Regions from separate parts of the Homo sapiens genome. Here region 2 is linked to region 1. Evidence: promoter capture Hi-C in 16 types of primary human blood cells and fetal thymus (Javierre and others, 2016). All regions are on one chromosome and are shown on one strand. The core of a region is centred on a gene start or on the middle of the fragment in contact, and the rest is flanking DNA. Distances in the headings are between cores, read along the strand shown. Region 1 holds the start of DGUOK (deoxyguanosine kinase). Region 2 overlaps HTRA2 (HtrA serine peptidase 2).

Region 1 (4,004 bases), core at 1,283-3,782:
CATGCTTAAAACCAAGGCTCACTTCTGTAATCCCAGCACTTTGGGAAGCCAAGGCAGGAGGATCAATTGAGCCCAGGAGATCAAGACCAGCCTGGAAAATATAGTGAGACCCTGTCTCTACAAAAAATATACAAAATTAGCCACGCATAGTGGCAAACACCTGTGGATCCAGCTACTCAAGAGGCTAAGGTGGGAGGATGGCTTGAGCCTGGGAGGCAGGCTGCAGTGAGATGCAATTGCATCACTGTATTCTAGCCTGGCAACAGGGCAAGACCACACCAAAGGAGGGGAAGCGAGGGGAGGGGAGGAAGAAGGAGAGGAGGAAATAAAAGAAAATCAGGAGTCTATCTTTCAAGTACTCAAGTCAAAATAATTGGAGTCATCATTGGCCCCTCTCTTTACCTTACACTCTGCATTCAACCTGTCACCAAATCCAATTGGCCCTATCTTAAAATATAACTAGAACCCAATCATTTCTCACCACTTCCACTGTTAAATTTTACTTAAAATGTAACTCAATTTTTGTTAACGTATAACTAGAATCCAATCACGTCTCACCACTTTCACTTTTCACAATACTATAATTATTGCAATACCACTTAACACTCTTCACTTTCAATGTTATCAGCCACAGTGATCTTTTTATAATCTAAGTAAAACTGTCACTTGACTCCTCAAACCTTCCAATGGCTACCCATCTCGGTAAGATTAAAAACCCATGATAAGGCCTATAAAATCTGGCCACCCCTTGGGCTTTTGCCCTAATTTCCCTCCCATCCTTGCTCACTCGACTTCAGTCACAACGATTTCCCTCCTATTCCCCGAACACACTTTCCACCTCAGGGCCTTTCCAATTGCTCTTCACTCTGCCTAGAAGATTCTTCTCCCAGGTATCCACGTGATTTGCTCCCTCATCTTCAGTTTTTTGCTCAGATGTCACCTTCTCAGTGAGGCCTTGCTTATTTTATTTAAAATGACAACTTCGGCCAGGTGCAGTGGCTAACGCCTATAATCCCAGCACTTTGGGAGGCCGAGGCAGGCGGATCACCTGAGGTTAGGAGTTTGAGACCAGCCTGGCCAACATGGTGAAACCCTGTCTCTACTAACAAAACAAAAATTAACTGGGTGTGGTGGCGGGTGCCCCTAATCCCAGCTATTCGGGAGGCTGAGGCAGGAGAATCGCTTGAACCAGGGAGGCAGAGGTTGCAGTGAGTCGAGATCGTGTCATTGCACTCCAGCCTGGGTAACAAGAGCAAAACTCCATCTCAAATAAAATAAAATAAAAACTTCCCTCAATTCTTCATCCCTAATTTTTCTCCATCATACTTATTACTCTCTAACATATTGTTCACCTTGCTTAATTTATGTTGTTTATTGTCCATCTCTCCCTACTTGAGTTCCATGAGAGCAGAGATTTTTATTTGTTCTATTCACAGCTGTATTCTCCAGGCCAAGAACAGTGCTGGCATATGGAAGTGGCTCAAAAGGTGATTTGTTGAATGAATAAAAAAAGAAATTCTCAGTTTGCTGCTACGTCTTCAGTACTCAACACTTGCTAAGCCCCTTTTAGGGGCTCAGTGACTTGGTAGATAAAAGTATCAAGTCAGAATTTATTAATATTAAATCGAAATGCTTTGCCTTCATTTTGCTTTCTGACTACTTTTTATTCAAGATACTGGATCTCACTCTTTTAACAAAATAATTTTTAATTTAATACATGTTTTTAAGTTTAAAAAGTGAGGTTCTTCTAAGAAAAGCCTTAAGAAATTATTATGCAACTAGCACAGGCACAGGGCAAAAATTGTGAATGTGGTATTTGAACGACTGAAATTTAGGAACTCTCTTCGAATAGGGTTGCCAGATAAAATACAGGACACAGTTAAATTTGAACTTTCAATGAGTGATTTCGTTGTTGTTTTGCTGTAAGGATGTCCCAAATATTGCATTGGACACACACTAAAAATTATTCGTTATCTTAAATTCTATTTTAACTGGATATTATTTTTAATTTCTGCTAAATATGGCAACCCTATCTAGGAGAACAAATAAACTGCACCCGCTTGTCGCTTCAATTTCGATCTATTACAAACAGCTAATACAATTCTTGTCCTATCCACTAACTGCGTGGCTTTTATGCCCCAACAAATATGTTCCTGTGGGCGGGTACTGAGGCCCGATATCCTAAAAACAAGGAGGCAAAGATACACAGTGCACTTTGCGAGGGGAAAGGCTCTCCTCGCAGCCCAGAAAAAGAGGCCGGCCGCATCAGACGCAGGCCATTCCGGGCCCAGCTCCTTTCCCAGCCTCTGTCGCCTGCGTGGCGGAGGCCAAGGCTTGGCAGCCGCTTTCCGGCCCTTACCAATGTTGCCTTCGATGGAGAGCCTTCGGGGCCCGCGCCCCGCGTGCAGGCCTCTGGAGGAGGAAACGCCCTCGAGTGGGCTCTTGGCCATGGAACTGAAGGGTGCTCGAAGCCGACTTAGAAAGAGGCGGCCCGCGGCCATCCCACCCACGATTCACACAGCGATCACTTCCGCCGAGAGCACTTCCGCCCTAGGTATCGCTGCTCACTCGCTCCAGCGCACCGTTGACGTAAGGAGATCGTCAGACAGGAAGTGGGTGGGGTTGAACATGCGGCGGGGTGCGCCCAAGAGACCGCTCCGCTATCGCGATGTTTGTAAAGAAGCGTTGAGTGAAGGAAGTTTTGCAACGGTGCAGAATTTGATAGTAAAAGGAGTTGCGGTGCGAGTGGTTTTTGTTCATTGGACAAATAACATTTTAAAAGACGTAATTCCACAATCCAACCACTTCATTTTTGTATAACTTTAAAATAAATTTTATAACTGAAGACAAAATTAAAAATAGAAATTGTAATTTTAAGAGGGGATTTCCCCCCCCCCAGGTGCTTGTTGTCTGGTTTTTATTTTAATATCGGAAGAAAATGGAAGTTTTAAAGTAGGAAAATGACTCAATCTGATGATTTACACAAATTTAACTTTTTCCTATTCCCTGTAATTCCCCTGCACAATGCTGGCATATTATTGACTAAATTAACAAATTAGATAATCAGTTACACCCCATCTCTTAGTTTGTGTCTTGAATAAGTAAATAAATGTTCGGTCAATCGATTTGCATTATACCCAAAAATCCCTTCAGGATAAGGTGGTGGTGGCTCAGGTATGTGACTGGAAATTGTTTAAACCTGGTAGGCTGGGTTCTTGGACGTAAGCAATGGCGAGTAGAGACTTGTATAAAACCTGAGTCCTGCTGTCGGTGAAGTGTGCTCTGCAGGAGGGCAGGGACCTAAGCTGCTGCCACAGGTGAAGCCGGACTGCCACACCCCGTCGTCATAACAACCTCAGAAGTAATGATTTACAAAATGTTGTCAAATGGTGCTTCCAGTTCCAATCGCTTAAATCACCAACAGTCAAAACCAGGAGTCAACAGGCCAAACCGGCCTTCAGGCAGCGCTCTTAGGTGTGGCAGGTTTTAGAAGACAAGGATCTGATTGCAAGGGGGCTGGGGAGGGGCCGGGGGCTGGGATACCTGTCTTGAAGCTGTTCCCATAAAAAGCACGGGACCTTTTTCTTATGTTGATGTATATATAGGATGGCTGAGGTCATGTTTATATATTAAGAACTTTTTTTTTAATCGAATTTTTTAAGGATAACCAGGGTGGGGCGTTAATGGCTACTGGAGCGGCTAAAGTCCTACCCATTCCCATCTCCACTCCAGCAGCCACTTCTGTTAAAACAAAACAAAACAAAACAAAACAAAACAAAAAACAAAAAAAAAACTGCTTACATTTCTTTACCTATGTAAACTCAGACTTGGAAAATATTCATCCAAAAAAGCTTGAGAGGCTCTCTGCCTCGCCAGGATCTTGCTGCCTCAGGGGTGTTGTGAAAGTTAAATGAGGAAGTTGTCTGCAGGCAGGCATTAATCTCCTAAAAGCTACGAGGCAGGAAAATAGGGTCTGGAGACAGGGAACCTAAGGCCGATTTAGG
Region 2 (3,995 bases), core at 725-3,224, 610 kb before region 1:
TTCTGGGGGCAGAGAAGGAAACAGAAGTTCCCTTCTCCCCACAGGCATTACCACAGCATGGACATCTTCACTCACTATGATATCCTCACCCCAAATGGCACCAAGGTGGCTGAGGGCCACAAAGCTAGTTTCTGTCTCGAAGACACTGAGTGTCAGGAGGGTGAGTTGGGGACTGAAGTGAACCACATGGTATCCATTGCACAGCCTTTCCTTACACTGACATATGCCAATCCCTCCAGATGTCTCCAAGCGGTATGAGTGTGCCAACTTTGGAGAGCAAGGCATCACTGTGGGTTGCTGGGATCTCTACCGGCATGACATTGACTGTCAGTGGATTGACATCACGGATGTGAAGCCAGGAAACTACATTCTCCAGGTACCTGGAGTCTGGGGCTTCCAGATGGGTGAGTGGGGGGAGCGTTAAAGACACCTTTGAATTCGAGGATTGTCGCTGGGTTAAGTGGCCTTTTTCTCACTCACAGGTTGTCATCAACCCAAACTTTGAAGTAGCAGAGAGTGACTTTACCAACAATGCAATGAAATGTAACTGCAAATATGATGGACATAGAATCTGGGTGCACAACTGCCACATTGGTATTTGATGGGAAGAGCAACCCAGGAAGATTAGGGGATGGGAGGGAAAGACGTTCATTCTCTTTTCCATAGCTTGTTTCTCCATCTTCCCACCTTCCTGTAGAGCTCTCAGTCCCTCCACTTCTACCCACCCTTCTCCACAGTGCATCTATCTCCCTCCCTCTGTGCAGGGCGCCTCCCAAATTGCCTGTCCACTCTGCAGGTGATGCCTTCAGTGAAGAGGCCAACAGGAGGTTTGAACGCTACCCTGGCCAGACCAGCAACCAGATTATCTAAGTGCCACTGCCCTCTGCAAACCACCACTGGCCCCTAATGGCAGGGGTCTGAGGCTGCCATTACCTCAGGAGCTTACCAAGAAACCCATGTCAGCAACCGCACTCATCAGACCATGCACTATGGATGTGGAACTGTCAAGCAGAAGTTTTCACCCTCCTTCAGAGGCCAGCTGTCAGTATCTGTAGCCAAGCATGGGAATCTTTGCTCCCAGGCCCAGCACCGAGCAGAACAGACCAGAGCCCACCACACCACAAAGAGCAGCACCTGACTAACTGCCCACAAAAGATGGCAGCAGCTCATTTTCTTTAATAGGAGGTCAGGATGGTCAGCTCCAGTATCTCCCCTAAGTTTAGGGGGATACAGCTTTACCTCTAGCCTTTTGGTGGGGGAAAAGATCCAGCCCTCCCACCTCATTTTTTACTATAATATGTTGCTAGGTATAATTTTATTTTATATAAAAAGTGTTTCTGTGATTCTTCAGAGCCCAGGAGTCAGTGCTGGTGGTTGGAGGGACCTGCCCCCACTGGTTCATTTAACCCTCTGTCTCGGTGCCCTCAGAACCTCAGCCAGAAAGGCAAGGAGGAAATCAGAGCAGGAGCCTCATACTCTTGGTGATCTATTCATTCTGTGACCTCAGGGGTCACATATAAGGTCAGTGTTTCTCGTCCCCGCCGGATCTGCACTGCCAACTGGGATTGGGTTCGAACAGCTTCATAAACATCTTCAGCATTTTGTACCATCTGCTCCCCAATGGCCAAAATCACATCACCAGGCCGCAGACCAGCCCTATAGAGAAAAATGGACAGAGAGAAAGGAAGGAGTACAAAGCCTAGTTCAAGGACACATGCACACCTTGCCCATCCCCATATCACACTGCAGCCTCTCCCTCACCGGTGTGCAGGGGAGCCCAGGATGACTTTATGGATGAGTACACCATGCTGAACATCGGGAAAGCTTGGTTCTCGAAGCTGTAGTTCAGCAAGGATGCTGAAAGTACACAGATCACCCTATTAGCCAAACCCAGGCATTCTCCCCATCCTGAGTTCCACCTCAAGTCTCTCATCAACACATTGATAAATATATGGACAGGACATGGGCTAGGTACTACAAAATACAATGGCAACTCACTTTCTGTCTTCTAGCAATAAAGTGCAACATGTACATAAAAGATGTACACCACATGAGGGCACCAAATGACAAACAGTGTTAAATCAATAGCACTAATGTCATTCTAGAATACTAAGAGAAGCTTTAAGGGGAAAGAACTTAAGTTGAGCCTAAAAGGATGGATCTGATATTAACCATATAAAACAAGAACAGCATAAATAAAAAACATGGGAGTAGGAAATCAGGTTGGCTGAGTATTCATATAGGAAGGTATTACAGCCAGGTCTAGAAAGTTGATTTACAGACAGATGGAAAATGGCCCTTAAATGCCAAGTTAATGGATTGAAGGCTTGAAATCAAAGCAGTAACAGGATGAAATCAATCTGGTGACAGGTGTACAAAGTGGAGTGGGATAAGAAAGTCAAGATGATGAAGGGAGACAGCTCTTGTGATTATTTCAAGTGTGACACAGTTCATCTTAGATAAAGACAGAAATGAGAACAAAGCTCAATAGAGGTGCCCCCCTCTGATTACACTGGTCACATTACATGTCACTGTCCCTAAAGCTCATACCTGGGACTCAGGGTCAGCATCATCACCCCAATGTAGCGCCGCTGGGACCCACTGATTCCGGAGGAGGAATCTGTGACAGAGGGACAAATGAGCCCCACCCAGCTACATCCTTCCTTCCCTGCCCTCTTCTCCCAGTAGACCACCCTCCAGGAAGTCCCACTGAATGCCCTTCCCCTATTTCCACCACATTAAAGGAACCCGTTTCCCCATAAGGCAGGCTCACTCTTCTTTTCCCCACGATGCAGAAACTCTCGAAGACGATCAGAAGGGATGGCAAAGGAGATTCCAGCTGTGACCTTCATGGTGTTCACTCCAATCACCTCCCCATCCTGCAGGGATACAGCCCCCAGTTCCCTAGCCTAAACAAATAGTAGGGGATGGGGGCACCCGAACAAAAGTACCAGCAAGTGTTGGGGAGATCTGGTTGGATATTGAGAGATAGCCAACAAAGAACTGCTCAGAAACTTGACCAAACATCCTTGAATTAGGGGAAACCTACCCTTCCCACACTGACCTGGGGCAGGGATTCTTGGAAGGAAGGATGTCTCACTCACCAGGTTAACCAGGGGACCTCCAGAGTTTCCAAACTGTAGGACAAGGAGAAAACATGAAAGAGATCTGGGGATTCTAAGTCTGGGGGCATACCAGGATGTAGGTACTTTCTCCAAATTCTCTTCTTTCTCAGCCCATGAATAAGTGGCCACATTTTTGCAGCCTAAGCTCTATATAGGCTCATCCACCATATATCAGTTGGTGCTTGTACCACACAGCCTCTCCCCCCTCCCCCATCATTTGTCATTTCTCTCCTATCAGGACGCACATCAATAGCTGCATCAGTTTGAATGTATTCCACATTGGTTTGGGGGAGTCCCAGGTCTCTGGCTGGACGCTGAGCAGAGCTAACAATGCCGGATGTGATCGTGTTCTGCAGTGCAAAGGGACTTCCCATGGCAACAACAAACTCCCCTTGCCGGACATCAGCTGAGCGTCCCAGAGGCAGCGTGGGGAGAGGCTCCTAAGGGAGAATGGGTAAAAGAGACCTGTCATCTGAAGATGCGAGCAAATAAGCAGCTCCAACCAGACCTGGCCTACCCCAGCCCCCACCTTAGTCTGAATCCTCAGCGTTGCGATGTCTGCCACGGGATCCACAGCTGTGACCACGGCCTCATACGTGTCGCCGCTTAGCAGTCTCACACGGACTCTGCGCCGATCAGCCACCACATGGGCGTTGGTGACAATGAGCCCATCGGCAGCCACCACGAATCCTGAGCCGTTCGAGATAGGGACCTCGCGGCCCAAGAAAGGGTGCCTGAAATGGAGGGAAAGCACAGATAAGAGGAGGCTCTGACCCCTCCTACCCGCCCGCCCTCCAGCCTGTGGCTTCAGTGCCTCCCGGTCTACCCCCACCATTACCGGTCCAGGATCTCGATATAGACCACGGCAGG

What was found. The method cuts DNA at HindIII sites, captures the fragments that hold promoters and counts their contacts. A CHiCAGO score of 5 or more calls a contact.
Region 2: a contact is called between a fragment that was not itself captured here and the fragment with the promoter of DGUOK in region 1, in 1 of 17 cell types (total CD4 T cells). The highest score is 5.4, in total CD4 T cells.

The regions. Positions count from the first base shown.
Region 1 is chr2:73,925,408-73,929,411 of GRCh38, reverse strand. It overlaps DGUOK (deoxyguanosine kinase), which reads right to left and starts at 2,532. Exons shown (of 7, transcript NM_080916.3): 1 at 2,360-2,532. The coding sequence starts at 2,501. RefSeq lists an enhancer at 2,231-2,500. The HindIII fragment of the contact is 7,290 bases long and covers 1-3,853 here.
Region 2 is chr2:74,530,481-74,534,475 of GRCh38, reverse strand. HTRA2 (HtrA serine peptidase 2) reads right to left here. Exons shown (of 8, transcript NM_013247.5): 1 at 3,964-3,995; 2 at 3,655-3,859; 3 at 3,371-3,565; 4 at 3,105-3,137; 5 at 2,774-2,879; 6 at 2,551-2,620; 7 at 1,762-1,857; 8 at 1,157-1,656. The coding sequence ends at 1,491. LOXL3 (lysyl oxidase like 3) reads left to right here. Exons shown (of 14, transcript NM_032603.5): 11 at 45-160; 12 at 240-376; 13 at 483-594; 14 at 797-2,218. The coding sequence ends at 870. Among named protein-coding and RNA genes, the nearest start is that of HTRA2, 2.5 kb to the right of the region's middle. RefSeq lists enhancers at 3,437-3,646, 3,657-3,736, 3,767-3,836, 3,857-3,986. The HindIII fragment of the contact is 295 bases long and covers 1,827-2,121 here.